Regions from separate parts of the Homo sapiens genome. Here all the other regions are linked to region 1. Evidence: promoter capture Hi-C in 16 types of primary human blood cells and fetal thymus (Javierre and others, 2016). All regions are on one chromosome and are shown on one strand. The core of a region is centred on a gene start or on the middle of the fragment in contact, and the rest is flanking DNA. Distances in the headings are between cores, read along the strand shown.

Region 1 (3,367 bases), core at 439-2,938:
TACGGTTCTCAGTTTACAGAAGGGGGAAACTGAAACTCAGAGAGCAGAAGCGGCCCTTTCTGAGATCTGAATCAAACCCAGATCCACCTCTCCTGGCTGATGGCTGTTCAGCTCCTCCCACTTCTCCATCCCTGGAGAGGAAGTTAAGAGCTAAGCTGCTTAGCTGCAGGTCAAAAGGCAGCTGAAGTTTGAGCGGTGCCACAGTCCCCTTAACCCCTCCTTTATTTTGTCCCTCATTGGTGTCTTTCATTGTACTACCTCAAAGCTACCACGTTGAGCTCCTCCCCTGGGATAGATAAGTCTTTTTGAAGGACAGAACAGGTTGTCTCTCAGGAGAGGAGAATGAGGATTCTACCCACATTCAGAGCCAGCCAGGGTGGGGGGCTTCTGTCTTTCTGTAGCCCTTGATGCTGTTCCCTTTTCCTCTTCTTGAGGCAAACACACTCCTGGAATCAGAGGGGAAGCTTCCTGATATACCTCAGTGTCCATGGCTCCAAACCTGCTGGTGTCACCTGAGGCAGGCCCAGAGAGAGACGACACAGTCACTGCTTCAGGCCCAGGGAAGCTCACAGTCACCAACTCCTCCGACGACACTTGGTCACTCAGAACTCTAAACTGTGGGTCAGGAGCGCGACCTTGCTTGCTGTTGTATCCCCGACAGAACTCAGTATCACCACCCTCATTTTGCGGAAAGACATCATGTAAATGACTCGCTCATAAACACCTCTGCCTCTCTTCAACACTGTAATTAACTGCATTTCATGCTCCTTTCCATCACAGTATGGAAGACCACTAAGCACTGGACAGCAAGACTTGGTTCAGTCTAAGAACCAACTAAGCTTCATAGATGGGGGAAACCTATCCCAGTGATCTCGCCTTACACTTTGAAAACCAAGGTAGGAGACAGATGAGATGGAAGGTAGGGCCGTTTCCAGAACAAGAGTAGTCGCTAATATGGGAACTAGTATAAACAACTCCTACCTGACCTGGGCGACGTATGCTGGGCCCTGCGCTAAGCCTTTTACAAGTATTACATCACTGAATCTAAATGACCATAACAGGGAGGACTTCAGAAAAAGGAAATAACCCGCACCAGGCATGCACAGCAAGTCAGCAGTGGGGTCATGATTAAGCCTGCGCCAAAGTGTAGAGGGTGCCCCTGGGAATCCAGGCCAGGCAGATGAGTGGCCCAGGTCGCGATGGTGACCGACAGGAAGGCCGCAGCTGGGACCCACGGCGAGGCTCGACCGTGCTGGGGGTCGGGCTCGCGTGTACACACTTACCGGGGTGCAGGTGAGCGCGCAATGCGCGTGCACAGACCAATGCCCCGAGAGGACAGTGAGCGCGTGCGCGAGGCAGATGGTGGCAAGCACGAGCAGCGCAGCTTCGGGGATCTGCACCCAACTGCTGCCCCAGCCCCAGCAGCCAGCGGCTGCGGCACCCAACCAGGCCGGGTAAAGCAGCCCGGCGAATGGCAGCACCGTGAGGCGCCGCAACAGCGCCAACCGCCGGTACGGCCACACGGCAGCCACCAGCTCGTCACCGTTCGCTATGAGCGCCGGCCCGGCGGCAAGGAGCGCGCGCGGCTGCGGCCCGGGCTTGGGCTGCCCGTCAGGCCGGACCCCGCAAGGCCGGGCCCCGCAGGGCACCGCGTTGCCCACCGCCGCCGCTGCCGCCATCTTTCCTAGCGCCGCGCTCACTTCCGGGCAGAGGAACGCCTCACTTCCGAAGTTTTACTTCCGGTAAGCCCTGAGCGCCGCCATGGCAGCCTGGACTAGGAAGAGCCAGGGCAACAGAACAGGCTGGCCCCGGCAGGGACTACTTCGGGTGCCGCCATGACAGGCTGTGGCCGGAAGAAGAGGCTGGGCGTCGCCATGACAGAGAGGGACTGGAAGACCTAACGGTGCCTGCCTCCGCTGCCACGCCGGACTGAGACCGGAAAAGACAAGGCCGGCAAGGCGGGCTTGGGCGCCACCATGACAACCTGAACCAAAAAAAGCGAGCCCTCCTCCTTGACTACACCAGCACCACCTGTCACCAGGGGCGAAGCCTGGACCCTGCGGAGGCGGGGTCGGGAGCTTCGGAGTTCAGGAGGCGGGGCCCGGTGCGGGGGGCGGGGCTTGTGAGGGGCGGGGTCGGGGACCGCCCCGGAACACAACCACACCGGACAAGAGCCTTAATGTGATAGATAAGAATTACAAATACTAGCCGGGCGCGGTGGCTCACGCCTGTAATCCCAACACTTTGGGAGGCGAGGCGGGTGGATCACCTGAGATCAGGAGTTCAAGACCCAACATGGTGAAACCACGTCTCTACTAAAAATACAAAAATTAGCCGGGCGTGGTGGCACATGCCTGTAATCCCAGCTACTCGGGAGGATGAGGCAGGAGAATTGCTTGAGCCCGGGAGACGGAGGTTGCAGTGAGCCAAGATTGCTCCACTGCACTTCAGCCTGGCCAACAGAGCAAGACTGTCTCAAAAAAAAAAAAAAGAAAAATGAATTACAAAAACCACTTTAGGCCGGGCGCGGTGGCTCACGCCTGTAATCCCAGCACTTTGGGAGGCCGAGGTCAGGAGATCGAGACCATCCTGGCTAACGCGGTGAAACCCCGTCTCCACTAAAAATACAAAAAAAAAAAAAAAATTCTCCGGGCGTGGTGGCGGGCGCCTGTAGTCCCAGCTACTCCGGAGCCTGAGGCAGAATGGCGCGAACTGGAGAGGCAGAGCTTGCAGTGAGCGGAGATTGTGCCACTGCCCTCCAGCCTGGGCGACAGAGCGAGACTCTGTCTCCAAAAAAAAAAAAAAAAAAAAAAAGAAATTACCACTTTAACATAAAAAATGAAAAACTGGTGTTTACTTGAAATTATATACTTCTAGGCCGGGCGCGGTGGCTCACCCCTGTAATTCCAGCACTTTGGGAGGCCGAGGCGGGCGGATCACGAGTTCAGGAGATCGAGACCGTCCTGGCTAACACAGTGAAACCCCGTCTCTACTAAAAATACAAAAAATTAGCCGGGCGTGGTTGCAGGCGCCTGTAGTCCCAGCTACTCGGGAGGCTGAGGCAGGAGAATGGCCTGAACCTGGGAGGCGGAGCTTGCAGTGAGCCGAGATCGCGCCACTGCACTCCAGCCTGGGCGACAGAGCGAGACTCTGTCTGAAAAAAAAAAAAAAAAGAAATTATATAGTTCTATATTATTAACTGTACTGTTGCATAAATGCTATTTGAACAAAACCACAATAGGACTACTTAACAGTACCAATTAGTAGGATTAAACAGTATGTGTGACAAACAGTAACTATTTTATGTTTCTTTTTGTCCTCTGATACAGCAAATTTATTTAAACTTAAAATTTATTGGATATTTAAA
Region 2 (3,367 bases), core at 513-3,012, 1.8 Mb after region 1:
TTAAAAGCTCTGCATTCCATTACTCATCACAGAAAATAATCTAAATTAAATATGAATTAAGTTTGTGTGTGTGTGTGTGTGTGTGTGTGTGTGTGTGTGTGTGTGTGGTGATTATTCTAAATTACTAAACAGATTAAGGCCAATTTTTTTATGTCAAACATATAATTCTGAGAAACAATCAATACTTTATGTACATTTCTGTTACCTAATAGGCTATTTAAGCATTTATACAGAAATTTTATACAGTTGTCATTTTTAATGCATGTTTTCTGATAGTATAAAAGCTTTCTCATGCAAGAAGGCTGATGTTATAATAGTAGCTAAAAGAATATTAGAAAATATGTTTTTTTTTCATGGGACATTTCTGAAAGGTCTCTAATGATCAAGATACTTATTTCACTAGACAAGTTGTAAAACTGTTAAATAAGGTATTGTTCCTGGACCAAACTGAGAGTTGGGCTGCTATTTCTCATGGCCCAATAACGAGATGCAGATGAACTGGGGAGGAAGAGAGTTTTATTTCTGCAACCAGTTACAGGGAGAAGGCCTGGAAATTATCACCAGACCAACTCAAAATTACAACGTTTTCCAGAGCCTATATACCTTCTAAGCTATATGTCTACATGTAAGTGTGCATTCATCTAAAGAGATAAGTGATTAACTTCTTTTATTTAATCTGTAACTAAGGTCTGAGTCTTGAAGACCTTCCCCTGCAGCCTCAGTAAATTTACTTAATCTAAATGGGTCCAGGTGCTGGGGTAATTACCCTTATCTTGTCTCCTGCTAAATCACAGTGGTTTGGTGAATTCCTTCAGACCTCCAATAAACCTGTTTGTAGAGGCCTGGGGAATTTCTTCAGACCCCCAATAAAACTTGTTTAATCCTATAAGGCCCAAGAAAGGCCTAGGCGAAACTCTTGATGGGCTTTTGTTACATCCCAGCCTTTGTATAAGGTCACTGGCTTTTTTTTTTTTTTTAATTGAGACGGGGTCTCACTCTGTCACCAGGCTGGAGTGCAGCTGTACAATCTCAGCTCACTGCAAACTCCGCCTCCAGGGTTCAAGCCATCCTTCTGCCTCAGCCTCCCAAATAGTTGGGACTACAGGCACATGCCACCACGCCCAGCTAATTTTTTTGTATTTTTAGTAGAGACGGGGTTTCACCATGTTGGCCAGGATGGTATCGATCTCTTGACCTTGTGATCCGCCTGCCTCGGCCTCCCAAGGTGCTGGGATTATAGGTGTGAGCCACTGCGCCCGGCTGGTCACTGGCTTTTAATATTTAACTTAACCACTCAGTCAGTACTGAAACAGTTGTTAGTGAGGTCTGGCCTGCCACAGTATTACAGGTACAATAGTATTGAGCAAAGCTAACTAAATTGACTGGATTGCTTTTGTAATTGCAGATTGATGACAATCAGATTCACTTAGAGTGGAAAAAGTATGTTGGCCCTTATAAAATAGTCATTAGAAGGCCTATGTGCGTAATAGAACCTCATGTGTCTTCTGCTACTAAAGTCTAACATTACTAAATTCAACAAGGCTTTAATGCATTATGGCAAAGCACATTTTCACCAGGTGAGGAAAGCCTTTACTAGTCTACTGACTGAGGAGAGTAAAACCCTTTATAATCAAGAACCCAGAGATTGAATCTGCCTGCCACCTACACTGACGCAAGACTTCAAGACCTTGAACATTGGATTGATAATCTCACAACTTAGAAGGGCCCCTCCAAACTCTTGAAATTGTAAACCCATAGGAGATTTTAAGGTAAAGCTAACCAGGAAAGTTTGTCCTCAAAAGCAGATGGCCGTCTCCATGTAGATAGCTTTTTTCACAAGATCAAAAATCAAGACATCTCGTTATCATGACACTCTTAGTTCACAGTTTGTTTATGGTTCTACAAACCACAGAAATTTTAAAAAGTGGTCTCTTGTGTGCACTCATGGGGGTATACTTATATGTAGAGAATTTTGCAGCCAACATTATGTATGAGGAAACTTATTCCTTGAAAGGTAAAAGAAGAAGGGCCAATGTAGGTGAGAAGTTTTAATGAAACATTTGTTTTCTCACAATATCAAAAACAGAATATTGGTCCACTGCTCTTAACCTATTTCATAAGTTAAAAAGAACTTATTCAGAATAGGTTAAAGAGCATTGCCAGGAGGCCATTACTCTTCTGAATGGGTATCACTGTTTAGAGTAAATGAGGCAATGGTTACAAATTTATCCCTCTCAATAGGGCTCTATAGCAGATTATACCATAAAAACTATGCTTACACAATAGACTTTAAGTTTTCTCACAAAGTTATGCTAAATATAATTTCTTTTGATTACTTACTGGATAAATAGATATCTGTGCAGTTGCTAATAGTTGCCCATGGAGAACTACAGCCGGTATTACAGAGATGCAGTTGTAGATGATTCATGAACAGGCTGATTAGATGAAATGAGTAGATCATTTATCTAGCTAACTATTTGATCTATTTAACTTTAATTGGTTGTTCATGGGGACCCTGGCTAAAAAGCATGCTTCAAACTCTTGGTATTATCCTCCTGATAGTCAAAATGGTAATCTTCCTACTGCACTGTATTCTCTCAAAAGATGTAAACGTTTGAATGTAGTCATCTGTAGAATGTCAAATGGTCTCTCTTTAACTGGAATGACAGAAACTCAAAGACATATGTGACTATGAAGACAGCACAACCTATGAATGACATGCTAAGGACAAAAAACAAAAATAATGGAAACTGAGAGTGGCACTAAAGCCCCGAGTTTTGGTTACACTGTGACCTATGTAAGAACTTAACCAAACGGGGAATTTTTTAAAGAAAACTATTGGAGGCCATAATTCTGGACTGAGCTTATGCACTAGGTCCAAACAAACCAAACCAAAATGAGTCACTCATGCTGGATGTGACATAATTAAACTAAAAATTTAAGGCAACAGGTAGATTCTAAAACTGGCCAGGTTTTGTTTTTCTTCTCTAAATAGCAGATTTCAACACAAGGAGGTCCCCTGTACTCTAACACTTTAAAAAACAAATAAAAATAATTTCAAAATAATAAGCTGAAGTTTTTATTTCCACTTTACAAACCCACAGTTCTGCTGTTTCACAGTGAGATTCGAGTCTAAATAAGTACATTTTTGATGGTGACAAAGTGATATTAATGTCTAAAGTTTTGGTCTCAAACTTGAGAAGATGACAAAAGGGAGAAATTGTTAAATTAGTTGTAGCCTAAAGCTTCCCTCTTATGTTTAATTTTGGCTAATAGGATTTGTTTTTTGTTTTTTGTTTTTTTACATAGTAAACTTAATGTTCAAATGGGACATATCTTAAGCTGTAATAAATCTGGCTGTTTCTGT
Region 3 (3,367 bases), core at 411-2,910, 1.8 Mb after region 1:
TCCAGGGTCTAAACTAGCAAATCAAATCAGGACACCTACAGAAAACCGTTGGCCATTTTCTTTTCTTTCTTTCTTTTTTTTTTTTTTGAGACGGAGTTTCACTCTTGTTGCCCAGGCTGGAGTGCAATGGCGCGATCTCGGCTCACTGCAACCTCCGTCTCCCAGGTTCAAGCAATTCTCCTGCCTCAGCCTCCTGAGTAGCTGGGATTACAGGCGTGCACCACCACGCCTGGCTAATTGTATTTTTAGTAGAGACGGGGTTTCTCCATGTTGAGGCTGGTCTTGAACTCCTGACCCCAGGTGATCCGCCCGCCTCGGCCTCCCAAAGTGCTGGGATTACAGGCGTGAGCCACAGCGCCCAGCCTGGCCATTTTCAAATAGAAAATGAAACACACCCGTTAATGAAAGTAATCCAGTGATTTTCAAAAGGAGAAGTCAGACTGAGATGCAGCGCAGTCAGGGCACAATTACCCCAAGGATAGACGCTTCACACAAAATGCCTGAGGAGCCTTTCTAAGATGAGCACATTTGGCCAACGTAATTCATGCTTACCCATTCTCAGCCCCCTCTGCCCACCTCCCCCCCGCCCCATTCCTAATGGCCATCCCACGATGTGGTCAGCAGTGTGGTACAGCATGGTGAGAGAGGGGCTCAGGGATGGGATGAAGGTTTTTCCTGCATTATCAAAATGATTAAAAAGTTGTTAAAAAGGTGTCCAAATTTTCTTTTTACCCTAAAATAACTACTCAGATGCATTATACAAGTAGACCCAGGTAAGGGAAAGAGCAAGCGCATTTCAAGCCTCAGCTCACTTCTTAATTAGCTGTAATTCCCTGAGCAGGTGACCCTGCCTACTTCAGCCTGTTTCCCTGCCCATAAAATGCACTAATGCTGGGGAAGCCGCGCTGGGAGGTGGGTCCTGAAGCTTTATCCAATCAGTGGCGCTGGCGCGGGAACCGCCCAATCAGGCGCGGAGTTGGAGAGGAGGGCGTGGCCTCCGGCATTTGGCGGGCCCTTTGTCTCGCTCCTGCCAGAGTTTTAGTTGCCTGTCTCTGCTATTCTGCGTCCTCCACCTCGGGAGCCCCAGGTGACTTTGTCACAGCCGGTGGGTGTGCGGGTTGAGCATCCCGAGATGGGAGAGCGGCCTGTGAAACCGGCTGGACCGGCCTCCCCACAGTCCGCTCCTGGGTCGCCGACCTGAGTCCCCGCTGGCACAGCTCCGCTCCAGGCCACTCTGGCCGCAAGATGGCGGCTGGACTCGCAGCCAGGACCACAGCGTCCCGCCAGTTTCTGCGCGGCGCCAGTCCGGGGCTCTCTGGGCAGCTCTGCACCCGCAATCCCGAGTATTTCCCGGGTTGTTCAGGGAAGACAGGCGGGTCATCGGCAGAATCCCCACTCGGTGTATGCGTTGGAGGGGCTGCTGCCCGTGGGGTCTTAAGTCTTTTCTGATTATTATTATTTTTTTGTGAGACGGAGTCTCGCTTTTGTCTCCAGGCTGGAGTGCAGTGGCATGATCTCGGCTCACTGCAACCTCCGCCTCCTGGGCTCAAGCGATTCTCGAGCCTCAGTCTCCCGAATATCTGGGATTACAGGCACCCGCCACCATGCCCGGCTAATTTTTTGTATTTTTAGTAAAGACAGGGTTTCACTATGTTGGCCAGGCTGGTCTTGAACTCCTGACCTCAGATGGTCCGCCCCCCTCGGCCTCCGAAAGTGCTGGGATTACAGGCGTGAGCCACCGCGCCCGGCCACAAAGAAATTTTTCCGCCGTCCTTTTCGGCCACAAATAAATTTTTCCGCCGTACTTTTCGTATTTATTAAATTTTCTCATTAGAGCCTATTATTGATTGTAATGCATTTTTCTGTGAAATTTTGCTGCCATTCATTGAATGCCAATGATTCAGAATGCCTGCTCTGCAAGAGTACACACAGCTAAAAACTGTAGATATCTAAAGAATTATTTTTAATATCTATGTTGTATTCAGCATATTATGCGTTAAAATCTCTCTTGGCCGGGCGCGGTGGCTCACCCCTGTAATCCCAGCACTTTGGGTGGCCAAGGCGGGTGGATCACCTGAGGTCAGGAGACCAGCCTGGCCAACATGGTGAAACTCCTTCTCTACTAAAAGAAAAATACAAAAATTAGCCAGGCTTGGTGGTGGGTGCCTGTAATCCCAGCTACTCGGGAGGCTGAGGCAGGAGAATCGCTGGAATTCGGTAGGCTGAGGTTGCAGTGAGCCAAGATCACGCCACTGCACTCCAGTATGGGTTACAAGAGCGAGACTCCGTCTCAAAAAAATAAATAAATAAAATCTCTCTTATTTTTATTTCTACATTAGTGTTTCTTTTCGAGGGGGTATGTTTTTTTAGATCAGTTAATTGTATTTTTGCTTTCAAAGCTTGATATTATGAATTGAATGATAATTTTCAACTCTGTACAATTTTAGACAATGTGATGCTTAATTTATATATGAATTAGCCGTATGTCATCTATAGAAATATCGATGTGTTTTTCATCTGTGTTGCCACTACTTCGTTTATGACATACTCTTTCCATGGTTTTCAATGATTATTCTGTCTAGGTGAGTAGTCGGGAAAATAATCCTAAATTCACAATCTACTTATATTTTGAATCTGTATAATTATGTGAGAAGAACACTCTTTATTTGAAGGTAATGTTTGAAAAATGTCGTAATGTCTCTTATGTAGTCTTTAATTTTTTTTTTTGAGACTGAGTCTCTGTCGCCCAGGCTGGAGTGCAGTGGCGCGATCTTGGCGGGACTCCATCTCAAAAAAAAAAAAAAAGAGCTTCTGCACAGCAAAAGAAACTATCAACAGAGTAAACAGATAACATACAGCATGGGAGAAAATTTTTGCAAACTATGCATCCGTCGAAGGTCTAATGTCTAGCATCTATAAGAACTTAAACAAATTTACAGTAGAAAAACAACAACCCCGGCTGTGCGTGGTGGCTCATGCCTGTAATTCCAGCACTTTGGGAGGTCGAGACGTTTGGATCACTTGAGGTCAGGAGTTCAAGACCAGCCTGGCCAACATGGCGAAACCCTGTCTCTACTAAAAGTACAAAAATTAGCTGGCTGTGGTGGCATATGCCTATAATCCCAGCTACTGGGGAGGCTGAGGCAGGAGAATCGCTTGAACCCAGGAGGCGGAGATTGCAGTGAACCAAGAGTGCACCACTGCACTCCAGCCTGTGTCAAAGAGTAAGACTCTATCTCAAAAAAAAAAAAAAAAGAAAAACACCAACTCCATAAAAAAGTGGATGAAATAGGGCCAGGCTCAGTGGCTCATGCCTGTAATTCCAGCACTTTGGGAGGCCAAGGTGGGTAGATCACTTGAGGTCAGG
Region 4 (3,367 bases), core at 523-3,022, 1.7 Mb after region 1:
TAACCATAGGTAAACCACTGCTGACCACCTATTGCCCTCCTTCCTTCTAGAGATCAGACAGTGAACAAAGGATGATGGGGCCAAAGGAGAAGAGAACCCTATGTCTCTTCAGGCCCGTCCACACTCTTGACCTCCAATTTTTAGATATGAAAAAAAAATAGATTAAAGGCAAGCTTATCTTGCTATTTGGCCTTGGCCCTAATGGTCAGGCCGTGGTTGTCTATTTTCTCCTGTGGTATGAGGGACTGTGTGGGTATAGGCACCAATCACATGCATACAATGTCTACGTGTATTTCTGCATTACTCAATATTACCTTACAAGACATCCAACTCTAAATCAGAGGAAAAAATAGTACCTTTAGAGTGTCCACTGTGTGAAGGTAAGTAGTACTGAATCTGTCATTAAATCCTGGCATCCTGTCTGCACTGGGTGCATGTATTAGTTAGCTATTGCAGCATAACAAACCATCCAAAACTTATTAGCTCATAATTGAAATGGTCAGCCATTTGGGCTGGGCTCAGTGGGGCCATTTCTCTAGTCTCAGCTGAGCATTTTTAGACATGTATCATCAGCTGCTTGTTGACTAAGCAGCTGTGTTTCTGGGAGTGAGCTTCTGCTTCTGGAGCTGTCAACAGGGGCAACTTTTTTTCTCCTTTCCATGGTATCTTATTCTCTGACTGGCCAACGTGGGTTTTTCCCATGGAGATGGCAGCATTCTGAAATAAAAACAGAAGCATTCAAGACCATTTGAGCCTGGGCCCCAAACTAGCCCACTGTCATGTCCACAGGTTTCTACTGCCCTGAGCAAGTACGACCCGCCAGATCTAGTGTTCAGAAAACAGATTCTGGATCTCAATGGAACAACTGTAAAAGCACCTGGCAATGGGCAAGAATACAGGAGGATGAAAAATTGCTACCATTTTGGTAATCATTATTATTCTGCCCTTTTTAATGTATGTGGTTTATAGAACTCTTCCACAGAAAGAAATTTGTCCAAAGACTAACGGCTACTAAGTGGCTGAGCTGAGATTCAGAATAAATTCTGACTTCAAAGCCCATGCACCACCATAGATAACAATATTACAGAATCTGCCCTAGTCCTTTGAAATCCTGGAGAGTGGAACTTCTACAATAGAGGACAGAGGTCCTTTAGATTCATGCCCATATGGTACTGTTTATTATTGAGAATAATTCTCTCAAGAAATTCCAGAAGCAGACGGTGGCTTAAACCTGTAATCATAGTACTTTAAGAGGCTGAAATGGAAGAATCACGTGAGCTCAGGAGTTCAAGTGCAGCTTTGGCAACATGGTAAAATCTTGTCTCCATGAAAAAAAAAAGTTTAAATTAGCCAGGCATAATGGTGCATGTCTGTAGTCCCAGCTACTCAGTTGGCTGGGGCAGGAAGATTGCTGGAGCCTGGAAGGTCGGGGCTGCAGTGAGCCATGATGGGTTACACCATTACACTTCAGCCTGGGTAATAGAGTGAGACCCTGTCTCAAAATAAATAAATAAATACAATAAATTACAGAAGCAATTTGAAAGGACATAAAATAATTTGGAAAAATAGCTAAGGATTGAGTTTATGAAATCAAAGCTGGCAGGGCATCGTGGCTTATGCCTGTAATCCCAGCACTTGGAGATGCCAAGGTGGGTGGATCACCTGAGGTGAGGAGTTCGAGACCATCCTGGCCAATCATGGAGAAACCCCATCTCTACTAGAAATACAAAACTATCTGGACATGGTGGTGCTCACCTGTACACCCAGCTACTTGGGAGGCTGAGGAAGGAGAATCATTTGAACCCAGGAGGCGGAGGTTGCCATGAGTGGAGATCCTGCCATTGAAGTCTAACATGGGTGGCAAGAGCAAAGCTCCACCTCCAAAAAAAAAAAAAAATCAAAGCCCAGCAACACATTATATATTTTTCATCATAGAAAAAATTTGGGCTGGGCACAGTGGCTCACACCTATAATCCCGGCACTTTGGGTGGCTGAGGTGGGTGGATCACCTGAGGTTAGGAGTTTGAGACCAGCCTGGCTAACATGGTGAAAGCTCGTTTCTACTAAAAATACAAAAAATCAGCCAGGCTTAGTGGCAAGTGCCTGTAACTCAGCTACTCGGGAGGCTGAGGCAGGAGAATTACTTGAACCCGGGAGGCTGAGGTTGCAGTGAACCAAGATCCTACTATTGCACTCCAGCTTGGGCAACAAGAGTGAAACTCCGTCTCAAAAAAAAAAAAAAAAAAAAAAGCCGAACAACACATTATATATTTTTCATCATAGAAAAAATTGGAAAACTTTTAAAAGAAAAAAAACTTTAGAGAAATAAAATTAAATTTAACAGAGTTTAAGTGAGCAATGAATAATTTGCAAATCAGGCAGACTGTGGATCCACAGTAGGCTCAGTGAGACTCCAGCACAGCCACATGGTAGAAAAATATTTATGGACAGACAAAGCAAAGTGACATTCAGATAATGAAAGTGAGGTACAGAAACAGCAAGATTGATTAAAGCCAGGAATTTGCCTTATTTGAACATGGTTTGAACAGTTGATGTCCTCTTATTGGCAACAACACAGCAGTTGGTACAAAAATGGATTCCAGTCTATTTACATATCCAATTAGATTTCCATTTACTATATATTAAAAAACCTATTAACCAAAATTAAACACAATAGGAAACAGCTTTAGGCTATAATTTAATAATTTTTCCCTTTTGGACATCTTCTCAATGTTGAGAAATAGACCAGAACTTTAGATAATGATATCACTCTGTTACCATAAAAAAAATGTACTTATTTAGGCTGGGCGTGGTAGCTCATGCCTGTAATCCCAGCACTTTGGGAGGCTGAGGCAGGCAGATCACCTGAGGTCAGGAGTTTGAGACCAGCCTGGCCAACATGGTGAAACCCCATCTCTACTGAAAATACAAAACTTAGCTGGGCATGGTGGTGAGCACCTCTAATCCCAGCTACTCAGGAGGCTGAGGCAGGAGAATCCCTTGAACCCAGGAGGCAGAGGTTGCAGTGAGCTGAGATCGTGTCATTGCACTCCAGCGTGGGTGATAAGAGTGAAACTTCATGTCAAAAACAACAACAACAAAAAGTACTTAATTAGTCTCAAATTCCACTTTAAAATAGCAGAACTGTGGATTTTGAAAAGTGGAAACAAAGACTTCAGGTTATTAGTTTTTTAAAGGATTACAGTAGAGGGGACCTCCTTGTGTTCAAATCTGCTGTTTACAAAAGAAAAGCAAAACCTGGCCTGTAGATTCTAAAGATCTTCCTATTTCCTTAAATTTTCAGTTTGATTGTGTCACATTTACCATGAGTGACTCCATTTGGTTTGGTTTGGTCTGTTTGGGCCTA
Region 5 (3,367 bases), core at 273-2,772, 1.5 Mb after region 1:
CTCTCAGGCAGGGCTTCCTCCCTGAGGTGAGCTTGACCCACCCCAGAGGATATTTGCATTCAACCTTGCGTATAAGGTCATACGCATTTGTAAATAATATATCATATGGCGGCCAGGCACGGTGGCTCATGCCTGTAATCCCAGCACTTTGGGAGGTCAAGGTGGGTGGATCACGAGGTCAGGAGTTCAAGACCAGCCTGGCCAACATGGTGAAATCCCACCTCTACTAAAAATACAAAAATTAGCCTGGCATGGTGGGCAGCACCTGTGGCGCAGGTGGCACATGTGGGCTGCAGGAGCCAATCTGCTACTCTGGAGGCTGAGGTAGAGAATTGCCTGAACCCGGGAGGTGGAGGTTGCAGTGAGCAGAAATCATGCCACTGCACTCCAGCCTGGGCGACAGAGTGAGACTCCATTTCAAAAAAATATACATGGCTATACACAAACGAAAATAACATAATAACACATGTTTTAAAATTTCAGCTTTTTTTGGCCAAGCGTGGTGGCTCATGCTTGTAATCCAAACACTTTGGGAGGCTGAGGCAGGAGGATCATGAGGTCAGGAGTTCCAGCCCAGCCTGATCAACATGGTGAAACCCCGCCTCTACTAAAAAATTAACTTTGGGAGGCCAAGGCAGGTGAATCACCTGAGGTCGGGAGTTTGAGACCAGTCTGACCAACATGGAGAAACCCCATCTCTATTAAAAATACAAAATTAGCTGGGTGTGGTGGCACATGCCTGTAATCCCAGCTACTCGGGAGGCTGAGGCAGGAGAATTGCTTGAACCCCCGGGAGGTGGAGGTTGCAGTGAGTTGAGATTGTGCCATTGCACTATAGCCTGGGCAACAAGAGCAAAACTCCATCTCAAAATAAATTAGCCAGGTGTGGTGACGTGCACCTGTAATCCTAGCCACTCAGGAGGCTGAGCCAGAAGAATCACTTATACCTGGGAGGCAGAGGTTACAGTGAGCTGAGATCATGCCACTGTACTCCAGCCTGGGTGACGAAGTGGGACTCCATCTCCATGAAAAAATAAAAAAAAAAAAAATTCAGCTTTTTTACCTTCCTGGTTTACAGTCCTTTGAGTAGGCAGCCTGAGATTTTAAAAAGGAGGTAATCCTCTGAAATAGAATGTGAGACACATGTGAATTTTGAATTTTCTAGTAGCCAAACTTTAAAAAGAAACAAAGAACGGGTTGAATTGATTGTAAGAATGTAGTTAAGCCAATATATCCAAAATATCATTTTAATGTGTGAGGAATATGTAATTATTAATGAAGTATATAAATATTTGCAACTAAATTTTTGAAAATAACTGCATATTTTACCTTTCTAGCACATTGCAGTTCAGACCAAGCACATTCCAGGCACCCAGGAGCCACACATGGCAGCTCTGATGTCAGTGGTGTGAAGGGCCAGAGGGGAAGGAAGGGCCTCTCCCTACTAACATCTATCTTCAGTTCCGAGGTTGGAACAGATAGTGGCCATAGAAAGAGCTGAGGCCAGCAGGAATAAAATAACCACAGGTAAACCACTGCTGGCCACCTGTTGCCCACCTTCCTTTTAGAGATCAGGCAGTTAACAAAGGATGATGGGGCCACAGGAGAAAAAAACTCTACGTCTTCAGTTCTGTCCACACTCTTGAACTCCAATGTTTAGATATGGAGAAAATAGATTAAAGGCATTTATTTTGCTATTTGGCCTTGGCCCTAATTGTCTGGCTGTGGTTATCGGTTTTCTTGAGCGGTGACTGCACTCCTGTGCACTCCTGGAGTGACTGCACAGAACTTCAGGCGATCTGCCTGCCTCAGCCTCCTGAAGTGCTGGGATTACAGGTGTGAGCCACCACGCCCAGCCAAAATCTTCTACATATAAGTGTATGCCATGAGTGCACACAAGAGGCCTTTTTTAATTTCTGTCATTTGTAGAGCCATAAGAAAAAAACAGCGAACAAAGAGTGTATGATAGCAAAGATGTCTTGATTTTTGATCTTATAAAAAAAAAAGTCTATCTGGGCCAGGTGCGGTGGCTCATGCTTGTAATCCCAGCACTTTGGGAGGCCGAGGTGGGTGGATCACAAGGTCAGGAGTTCGAGACCAGCCTGGCCAATATGGTGAAACCCCGACTCTACTAAAAATACAAAAACTAGCTGGACATGGTGGCACACACCTGTAGTCCCAGCTACTCGGGAGGCTGAGGCAGAAGAATCGCTTGAACCCGGGAGGTGGAGGTTGCAGTGAGCCACCACCACACCACTGCACTCCAGCCTGGATGAGAGAGCAAGGCTCTGTCTCAAAAAAAAAAAAAAAAAGCTATCTATATCAATGTTGCCATCCACTTTTGAGAAGAAACTTTACTGGTTAGCTTTACCTTAAGATCTCCAATGGATATACAATTGCAAATGTTTGGAGGGGCCCTTCTGAGTCATGAGATTATTAACCCAAGGTTCAAGGTCCTGAAGTCTTGCTGCAGTGTGGATGGCAAGCAGACTCAATCTCTGGGTTATAGATTATAAAGAGTTTTACTGTCCTCAGTCAGTAGACCATTAAAAGCATTCTTTACCTGGTGAAAATATGCTTTGCCATAATGCACTGAAGTTTTGCTGCATTTAATCATATTAGACTTCAGTAGCAGAAGATACATGAGGTTCTATTATCTGGTGCATAAGACATCCAATGACTATTTTATAATAGTCAACACATTTTTTTCACTCTCAGTGAATCTGATTGTCATCAGTCTCAATTACAAAAACAATCCAGTCCATTTAGTTAGCTTTGCTTAACACTATTTTATCAGGGCTGGGTGCAGTGGCTCGCTCCTGTAATCTCAGCACTTTGGGAGGCTGAGGCAAGTGGATAACCTGAGGTCAGGAATTCAAGACCAGCCTGGTAAATATGGTGAAACCTCGTCTCTACTAAAAATACAAAAATTAGCCAGGCATGGTGGCAAGCGCCTGTAATCCCAGCCACTTGGGAGGCTGAGGCAGGATAATGGCTGAATCCGAGAGGCGGAGGTTGCAGTGAGTCGAGATGGCACCATTTGATTTATTTATACATAAATAGACTGTAACTTATTATTGTACCAACCACCGTGTTTTTACCAATAAAATAACATCAAGTGTTCAAGCCATGTTCAAATAAGGCAAATCCCAAGCTGTGGTCAATCTGGCTGTTTCTACACCTCATGTTTATTTTCTGTATGTCCCTTTGCTTTTTCTGCCATAAATCTGTTTTCATCATGTGGCTGTGCTGGAGTCCCTCTGACCCTGTTCTGGATTCACAGGCTGCCCAATTTGCAAATTATTCTATGCTCAAATAAACTCTGTTAAATATAATTTCTCTAAAGTTTTTTTCTTTTAGGCTGGGC
Region 6 (3,367 bases), core at 596-3,095, 1.4 Mb after region 1:
TCAAGCTCTGAAGTTCTTTCCTTGCTTCGTCTACTCAGTTATTGATACTTGTGGTTGCGTTGTGAAGTTCTGATGCTGTGTTTTTCAGTTCCATCAGGTCATTTATGTTCCTCTCTAAATTGGTTGTTTTGGTTAACAGCTCCTGTAATGTTTTTCATGGTTCTTAGCTTCTTTGCATTGGGTTAGAACATACTCCATTAGCTCAGCAAAGTTCATCATTACCCACCTTCTGAAGCCTACTTTTGTCAATTTATCCACCTTAGCCACCGCCCAGTTCTGTGCCCTTCCTGGAGATATGCTGGGATCATTTGGAGGAAAGGAGGCACTCTGGCTTTTTAAGTTTTCAGCATTTTTTGGTTTATTCTTTTCATCTTTGTGAGTTTTTCTAGCTTCGATCTTTGAGGCTGCTGACCTTTGGATGGGATGCTTGTGAGGATTTTTTTGTTCATGCTGTTTTTGTTGTTGCTTTCTGTTTGTTTTTCTAACCATCAGGCCACTTTTCTGTAGCACTGTTGTGATTTGCTTGGGATCTACTTCAGACCCTATTTGCCTGGGTTTCTCTCACACCTGGAGGTGTCAACCAGTGGAGCCTGCAGAATAGCAGAGAGGACTGCTTGCTCCTTCCTCTGGGGTCTTTGTCCCAGAAGGGGAATGATCTGATGACAGTGGGAACACTACTTTATAAGTTGTCTGACGATGTCTGTTGTGGGGGTCTCACCCAGTCAGGATGCATGAGATCTGGGAACCACTTAAGAAAGCACTCTGGCTGCACCTTGGTGGAGTGGCTGTGCTGCACTGAGGGAAATTCCATACATCTGTACTGCCTGGATTGCTCAGAGCCAGCAGGGGGAAAGACTAAGTCTGCTGATCTGCAGAAACCACCTCATTGTTCCTGTTTTATGTATTTCTTGTAGATAAGTTTTTTCTCATTTCCTGTTTTACTACCTTTATTTTTGTTAACTTTATCGTTACATGCTTTGATTATTTTTTCATTTTTTGCATACTTTTTATAAATATTATGTAATCACCTTGAAGTATAATGTAATCATCTTAAAATGGAGATTACATAAAACATCTTTTTTTTTTTTTTTTTTTTTTTTTTTTTTTTAGTATTTATTGATCATTCCTGGGTGTTTCTCGCAGAGGGGGATTTGGCAGGGTCATAGGACAATAGTGGAGGGAAGGTAAGCAGATAAACAAGTGAACAAGGGTCTCTGGTTTTCCTAGGCAGAGGACCCTGCGGCCTTCCGCAGTGTTTGTGTCCCTGGGTACTTGAGATTAGGGAGTGGTGATGACTCTTAACGAGCATGCTGCCTTCAAGCATCTGTTTAACAAAGCACATCTTGCACCGCCCTTAATCCATTTAACCCTGAGTGGACACAGTACATGTTTTAGAGAGCATGGGGTTGGGGGTAAGGTTATAGATTAACAGCATCCCAAGGCAGAAGAATTTTTCTTAGTACAGAACAAAATGGAGTCTCCTATGTCTACTTCTTTCTACACAGACACAGCAACAATCTGATTTCTCTATCTTTTCCCCACATTCCCCCCTTTTCTATTCGACAAAACCGCCATCGTCATCATGGCCCGTTCTCAATGAGCTGTTGGGTACACCTCCCAGACGGGGTGGCGGCTGGGCAGAGGGGCTCCTCACTTCCCAGAAGGGGCGGCCGGGCAGAGGCGCCCCCCACCTCCCGGACGGGGCGGCTGGCCGGGCGGGTGCTGGCCCCAACCTCCCTCCTGGACGGGGTGGCTGGCCGGGCAGGGGCTGCCCCCCACCTCCCTCCCAGATGGGGCATAAAATATCTTAAAGTTAAAAAAATAAGGCCAAGCATGGTGGCTCACACCTGTAATCCCAACACTTTGGGAGGCTGAGATGGATAGATCACCTGAGGTCAGGAGTTTGAGACCAGCCTGGCCAACATGGTGAAACTGTCTCTACTAAAAATACAAAAATTAGGTATGTGGTGGAGGACATCTGAGACTGAGGCAGGATAATCACTTGAACCCAGATGACAGAGGTTGCAGTGAGCCGAGATTGCGCCACTGCACTCCAGCCTGGGTGACAGAGCAAGACTCCATCTCAAAAAAAAAAAAAAAAAAAAAAAAGTAAAAAAGATATATTTTAACTTCTTAAACTTTAATTAAATACAAAACCTATACTGCTATGTTTTCCAGTTTGTTATTGATACTACAAATTATATTATGTATCTATTAACAGATTTATATCTTGTATTTTTATATCTACAGAACTTTAACGGTTTTATGCACCATTATGATAGTAAAAAATTCTATATGTATCTGTATATTTATATTTAATAGGGAGCTTTATATATGGTTTTATGATGCTGTCTAGCATCATTTTATTTTTCAACAAAATGGATTCATTTTAGCATTTCTATTTGTTTATATGCAGAGTCTGTGTTTCTCAGACTGGATCTTGGACTCCTGGTCTCAAGAGATCTGACTGCCTTGGCTTCCTAAAGCTGTAGAATTACAGGCATGAGCCACTATGTCTGGCCACCATGTAACATTTCTTGTTACATTTCGTGCAACATTTCTTGTTACGTTTCCTGCAACATTTCTTGTTACATTTCGTGCAACATTTCTTGTTACATTTCGTGTAACATTTCTTGTTACATTTCGTGTAACATTTCTTATAGTGAACACCCTGAAATTTAATTTAGGAAAGTCTGTATTTTTATTTTGTTTTTCAAGTAAAATAACTTTGAATTAAATATTATTGGTTAGAATTTTTTATTACATCAAAATTTGGGAAGTTCTCAGCTTTCGTTTTCTTTAATTTACCTCTGTATTACTTTTTCCCTACATTATTCTTCTCTTTTTTTTTTTTGAGACAGAGTCTCTCTCTGTCACCCAGGCTGGAGTGCGGTGGCTCGATCTCAGCCTCAGCCTCCCGAGTAGCTGGGACCACAGGCGCCCACCACCACACCTGGCTAATTTTTTGTATTTTTTCAGTAGAGGCAGGGTTTCACCGTCTTAGCCAGGACGGTCTCGATCTCCTGACTGTGTGATCCGCCTGCCTCGGCCTCCCAAAGTGCTGGGATTACAGGCATGAGCCACTGTGCCCAGCCCCCCTATATTCTTCTAAGATTTATTTCATGAATATATTGATGGACTTGATGGTGTCCAATAAGTTTTACATTCCATATTTTTCTTTTGTTTTGCAATTTTATATTTTTATGTTATATATTTTAGGGTATGCCACCTCATACCAATTAACTGTGTTTTGATGTTTTAGTTTATATTGTAATTGTGTATGACAATGTTTAACTCTGTACAATTTAAGGCAGTTTGGAGCAAAATCAAATATAAATCAGCCATATGTCTATTGCCAATATAATTA
Region 7 (3,367 bases), core at 585-3,084, 1.4 Mb after region 1:
CTACAGAGTCCTGGAAAGGTGGGGACCCACAGGCAGATGCAGTTAAGGTTAAGATGGTAGGAGATTGAGAGGGTCTTACTGATGATAAAGTTGTTAATGTTTGAAGGCAGTTTCTAGACTTTGTAATACCTAACAAAGTTAGATTTATGTTAAAAATTTGAATTCCAAAGGACTATTGCAACAGGAGGAAATACCAACTGTAAGAACCTTAAGGATTGCAAAGTTTAGGCAGAAAAGGGCTTTCTTTCATGGGGAGGAGCAAACAAAATTAGAAGTTGGAGACGGCCGGATGCTGTGGCTCACACCTGTAATCTCAGCACTTTGGGAGGCCGAGGCAGGCGGATCATGAGGTCAGGAGATGGAGACCATCCTGGCTAACATGGTGAAACCCCGTCTCTACTAAAAATACAAAAAAATCAGCCGGGCGTGGTCACGGGCGCCTGTAGTCCCAGCTACTCGGGAGGCTGAGGCAGGAGAATGGCGTAAACCCAGGAGGTGGAGCTGGCAGTGAGCCTAGATCGCGCCACTGCACTCCAGCCTGGGTGACAGGGCCAGATTCCATCTTAAAAAAAAAAAAAAGAAGTTGGAGGTGACTGACAAATGAAGGGTGAAATAATCAGATTTTAGATCAGAGAATGTTTTACCCTGAAGTCAGCATGTTCTTAGGAGGGACATAAAATGGAGTTGTATATTGGCTCAGATTGAGGGTAGCTCCAAGTTCAGGAGCCTGTGAAAAATTTTATTTAGACCACTGAAGACAAATTCAGCTGATTTTTTTAAATGAGAAAAAGAAAATGTGCAGAGTTCTTATCGGAAAGGGGTCACAATCCACACCCCAAGAGAGGGTTCTTGGATTTCGCTCAAGAAAGAATTCAGGGTGAGTCTACAGAGTAAAGTAAAAGCAAGTTTATTAGGAAACAGAAGGAATAAAAGAATGGCTTACTCTATAGGCAGAGCAGCCCTGAGGGCTGCTGGTTGCCCATTTTTATGGTTATTTCTTGATTATATGCTAAACAAGGGGTGGATTATTTTTGCCTCCCAATTAGACAATATAAAGTCATTTTCTGATGTTTCCATGATGTCTCCATGGCATTTTGTAAACTGTCATGGCACTGGTGGGAGTGTAGCAGTGAGGACCACCAAAGGTCACTCTCATCCCATCTTGGTTTTGGTGAGTTTTATCCACCTTCTTTACTGCAACCTGTTTTATCACCCAGATCTTTATAACCTGTATCTTGTGCTGAACTCTTGTCTCATCCTGTGACTTAGAATGCCTAACCATCTGGGAGTGCAGCCCCATAGGTCTCAGCCTCATTTTACCCAGCCCCTATTCGAAATGGATTTGCCCTGATTCAATACACCTCTGACATTTCTCCTTTTTTTTTTATCTGAGACGGAGTCTCACTCTGTTGCCCAGGCTGGAGTGCAACGGCATCATCTCGGCTCACTGCAACCTCCACCTACCAGGTTCAAGTATTTCTCCTGCCTCAGCCTCCCCAGTAGCTGGGATTACAGGCGCCTACCACCATGCCTGGCTAATTTTTGTACTTTTTTTTTTTTTTTTTTCAGTCCAATCAGTTTACTCTGCTTTCTCCATCTCCTCCTCCCATTAGTCAGCCATTGGAACTGGGAAACCTCCTACTTTCCCCCTCTTTGTACTCTTTCCACAATTCATCTTGTCTTTCTGCAGCCATATCTTCTTAATACAGACTGAAGTTTCTGTCATTGAGAACAGAGTGATCCATAAACCTGGTCATCACACTTTTTATGAGATAGTAATGTGGGCCCCAGATCCATGGCATGGTTTCCTCTGGATGCACTCCTGGATCTAATTTTTGTATTTTTAGTAGAGACGGGGTTTCACCATGTTGACCAGGATGGTCTCCGTCTCTTGACCTCATGATCCACCTGCCTCGGCCTCCCAAAGTGCTGGGATTACAGGCATGAGCCATCATGCCTGGCCGTAATCTCTGACTTTTTTTTTTTTTTCTTGAGACGGAGTCTCACTGTGTTGCCCCGGCTGGAGTTCAGTGGCACGATCTCAGCTCACTGCAACCTCCGCCTCCCAGGTTCAAGTTATTCTCCTGTCTCAGCCTTCTGAGTAGCTGGGATTATAGGCGCACGCCACCACGCCTGGCCAGTTTTTGTATTTTTAGTAGAGATGGAGTTTCACCATGTTGATCAGGCTGGTCTCAAACTCCTGACCTTGTGATCTGCCTGCCCCAGCCTCCCAAAGTGCTGGGGTTACAGGCGTGAGCCACCGTGCCCGGCCAATCTCTGACTTCTTTAAGCAGTGTTTTGTGATTCTTGTCATAGGGATCTTTCACCATTCTGATTAGCTGTATTCCTAGATATTCTATTCTTTTTGTGGCAATTGTGAATGGGATTATGTTTTTGATTTGGCTTTTGGCTTGGATGTTTTGATGTACAGAGATTCTACTGATTTTTGTACGTGTATTTTGTATCCTGAAACTTTGCTAAAGTTGTTTATTAGTTTAAAGAGCTTTCCTGCTGAGACTATAGGGTTTTGAAGATATAGAATCATGTCATCTGCACACAGGGATAGTTAGACTTCCTTTCTTCCTGTTTGGATGCCTTTTTTCTTTTCTTTTCTTTTTTTTTTTTTTTTTTTTTTTGAGACAGAGTCTTGCTCTCGCCAGGCTGGAGTGCAGTGGTGTGATCTCGGCTCACTGCAACCTCCGCCTCCCAGGTTGAAGCGATTCTCCTGCCTCAGCCTCCTGAGTAGCTGGGACTACAGGCACATGCCACCATGCCAAGCTAAGTTTTGTATTTTTAGGAGAGACGGGGTTTCACCATGTTGGCCAGGATGGTCTCGATCTCTTGACCTCGTGATCTGCTCACCTCAGCCTCCCAAAGTGCTGGGATTACAGGCGTGAGCCCCCATGCCCGGCAGATGCCTTTTATTTTCATCTCTTCTCTGATTGCTCTGGCCAGGATTTCCAATTTTATGTTGAATAGGATGTTTGAGAGAAGGCATCCTTATCTTGTGCCAGTTTTCAAGGAGGAATGCTTCCAGCTTGTGTCCATTCAGTGTGTTGGCTGTAAGTTTGTCGTTGATGTCTCATTGTTTTGAAGTATATACCTTCAATGCCTAGTTTGTTAAGGGTTTTAAACATGAAAAATGTTAAATTATATTGAAAGTATTTTTAGCATCTATTGAGATAATCTTGGTATTTGTTATTAGTTCTCTTTATGTGATGAATAACATTTATTGATTGTATATGGAACCAACTTGCCTCCCAGAGATGCAGCCTACTTGATTATAGTGGATTAGCTTTTTGATGTTCTTCTGAATTCAGTTTCCCAGTATTTTGTTGATGGTATTTTCATCAATGTTCATCAAGGA

Evidence for each region. Contacts are between HindIII fragments. The CHiCAGO score rates a contact against its expected background, and 5 or more counts as called.
Region 2: a contact is called between a fragment that was not itself captured here and the fragment with the promoter of ATP13A1 in region 1, in 1 of 17 cell types (erythroblasts). The highest score is 5.0, in erythroblasts.
Region 3: a contact is called between a fragment that was not itself captured here and the fragment with the promoter of ATP13A1 in region 1, in 1 of 17 cell types (monocytes). The highest score is 13.0, in monocytes.
Region 4: a fragment that was not itself captured here is called in contact with the fragment with the promoter of ATP13A1 in region 1 in 1 of 17 cell types (monocytes); the score reaches 5.3 in monocytes.
Region 5: a fragment that was not itself captured here is called in contact with the fragment with the promoter of ATP13A1 in region 1 in 1 of 17 cell types (M0 macrophages); the score reaches 5.1 in M0 macrophages.
Region 6: a contact is called between a fragment that was not itself captured here and the fragment with the promoter of ATP13A1 in region 1, in 1 of 17 cell types (M1 macrophages). The highest score is 6.6, in M1 macrophages.
Region 7: a contact is called between a fragment that was not itself captured here and the fragment with the promoter of ATP13A1 in region 1, in 4 of 17 cell types (M0 macrophages, monocytes, M1 macrophages and 1 more). The highest score is 8.9, in M0 macrophages.

Annotation. Positions count from the first base shown.
Region 1 is chr19:19,661,988-19,665,354 of GRCh38, forward strand. It overlaps ATP13A1 (ATPase 13A1), which reads right to left and starts at 1,689. Exons shown (of 26, transcript NM_020410.3): 1 at 1,284-1,689. The coding sequence starts at 1,679. RefSeq lists enhancers at 1-82, 856-905, 1,037-2,019, 1,291-1,392, 1,736-2,025 and 1 more and silencers at 1,426-1,685, 2,126-2,175. The HindIII fragment of the contact is 4,289 bases long and covers 838-3,367 here.
Region 2 is chr19:21,499,866-21,503,232 of GRCh38, forward strand. It overlaps LINC00664 (long intergenic non-protein coding RNA 664), which reads left to right. Exons shown (of 11, transcript NR_037194.1): 11 at 1,406-3,367. Among named protein-coding and RNA genes, the nearest start is that of ZNF429, 4.1 kb to the right of the region's middle. The HindIII fragment of the contact is 2,961 bases long and covers 283-3,243 here.
Region 3 is chr19:21,473,826-21,477,192 of GRCh38, forward strand. No RefSeq gene overlaps it. Among named protein-coding and RNA genes, the nearest start is that of LINC00664, 8.2 kb to the right of the region's middle. RefSeq lists an enhancer at 670-1,323. The HindIII fragment of the contact is 1,474 bases long and covers 924-2,397 here.
Region 4 is chr19:21,331,551-21,334,917 of GRCh38, forward strand. No RefSeq gene overlaps it. Among named protein-coding and RNA genes, the nearest start is that of ZNF708, 3.8 kb to the left of the region's middle. The HindIII fragment of the contact is 3,203 bases long and covers 172-3,367 here.
Region 5 is chr19:21,135,887-21,139,253 of GRCh38, forward strand. No RefSeq gene overlaps it. Among named protein-coding and RNA genes, the nearest start is that of ZNF431, 4.5 kb to the right of the region's middle. The HindIII fragment of the contact is 7,891 bases long and covers 1-3,367 here.
Region 6 is chr19:21,047,089-21,050,455 of GRCh38, forward strand. The region is part of intron 4 of ZNF430 (zinc finger protein 430); the gene reads left to right. Among named protein-coding and RNA genes, the nearest start is that of ZNF430, 28 kb to the left of the region's middle. The HindIII fragment of the contact is 4,673 bases long and covers 1-3,367 here.
Region 7 is chr19:21,024,215-21,027,581 of GRCh38, forward strand. The region is part of intron 2 of ZNF430 (zinc finger protein 430); the gene reads left to right. Among named protein-coding and RNA genes, the nearest start is that of ZNF430, 5.2 kb to the left of the region's middle. RefSeq lists an enhancer at 1-464. The HindIII fragment of the contact is 3,709 bases long and covers 1-3,367 here.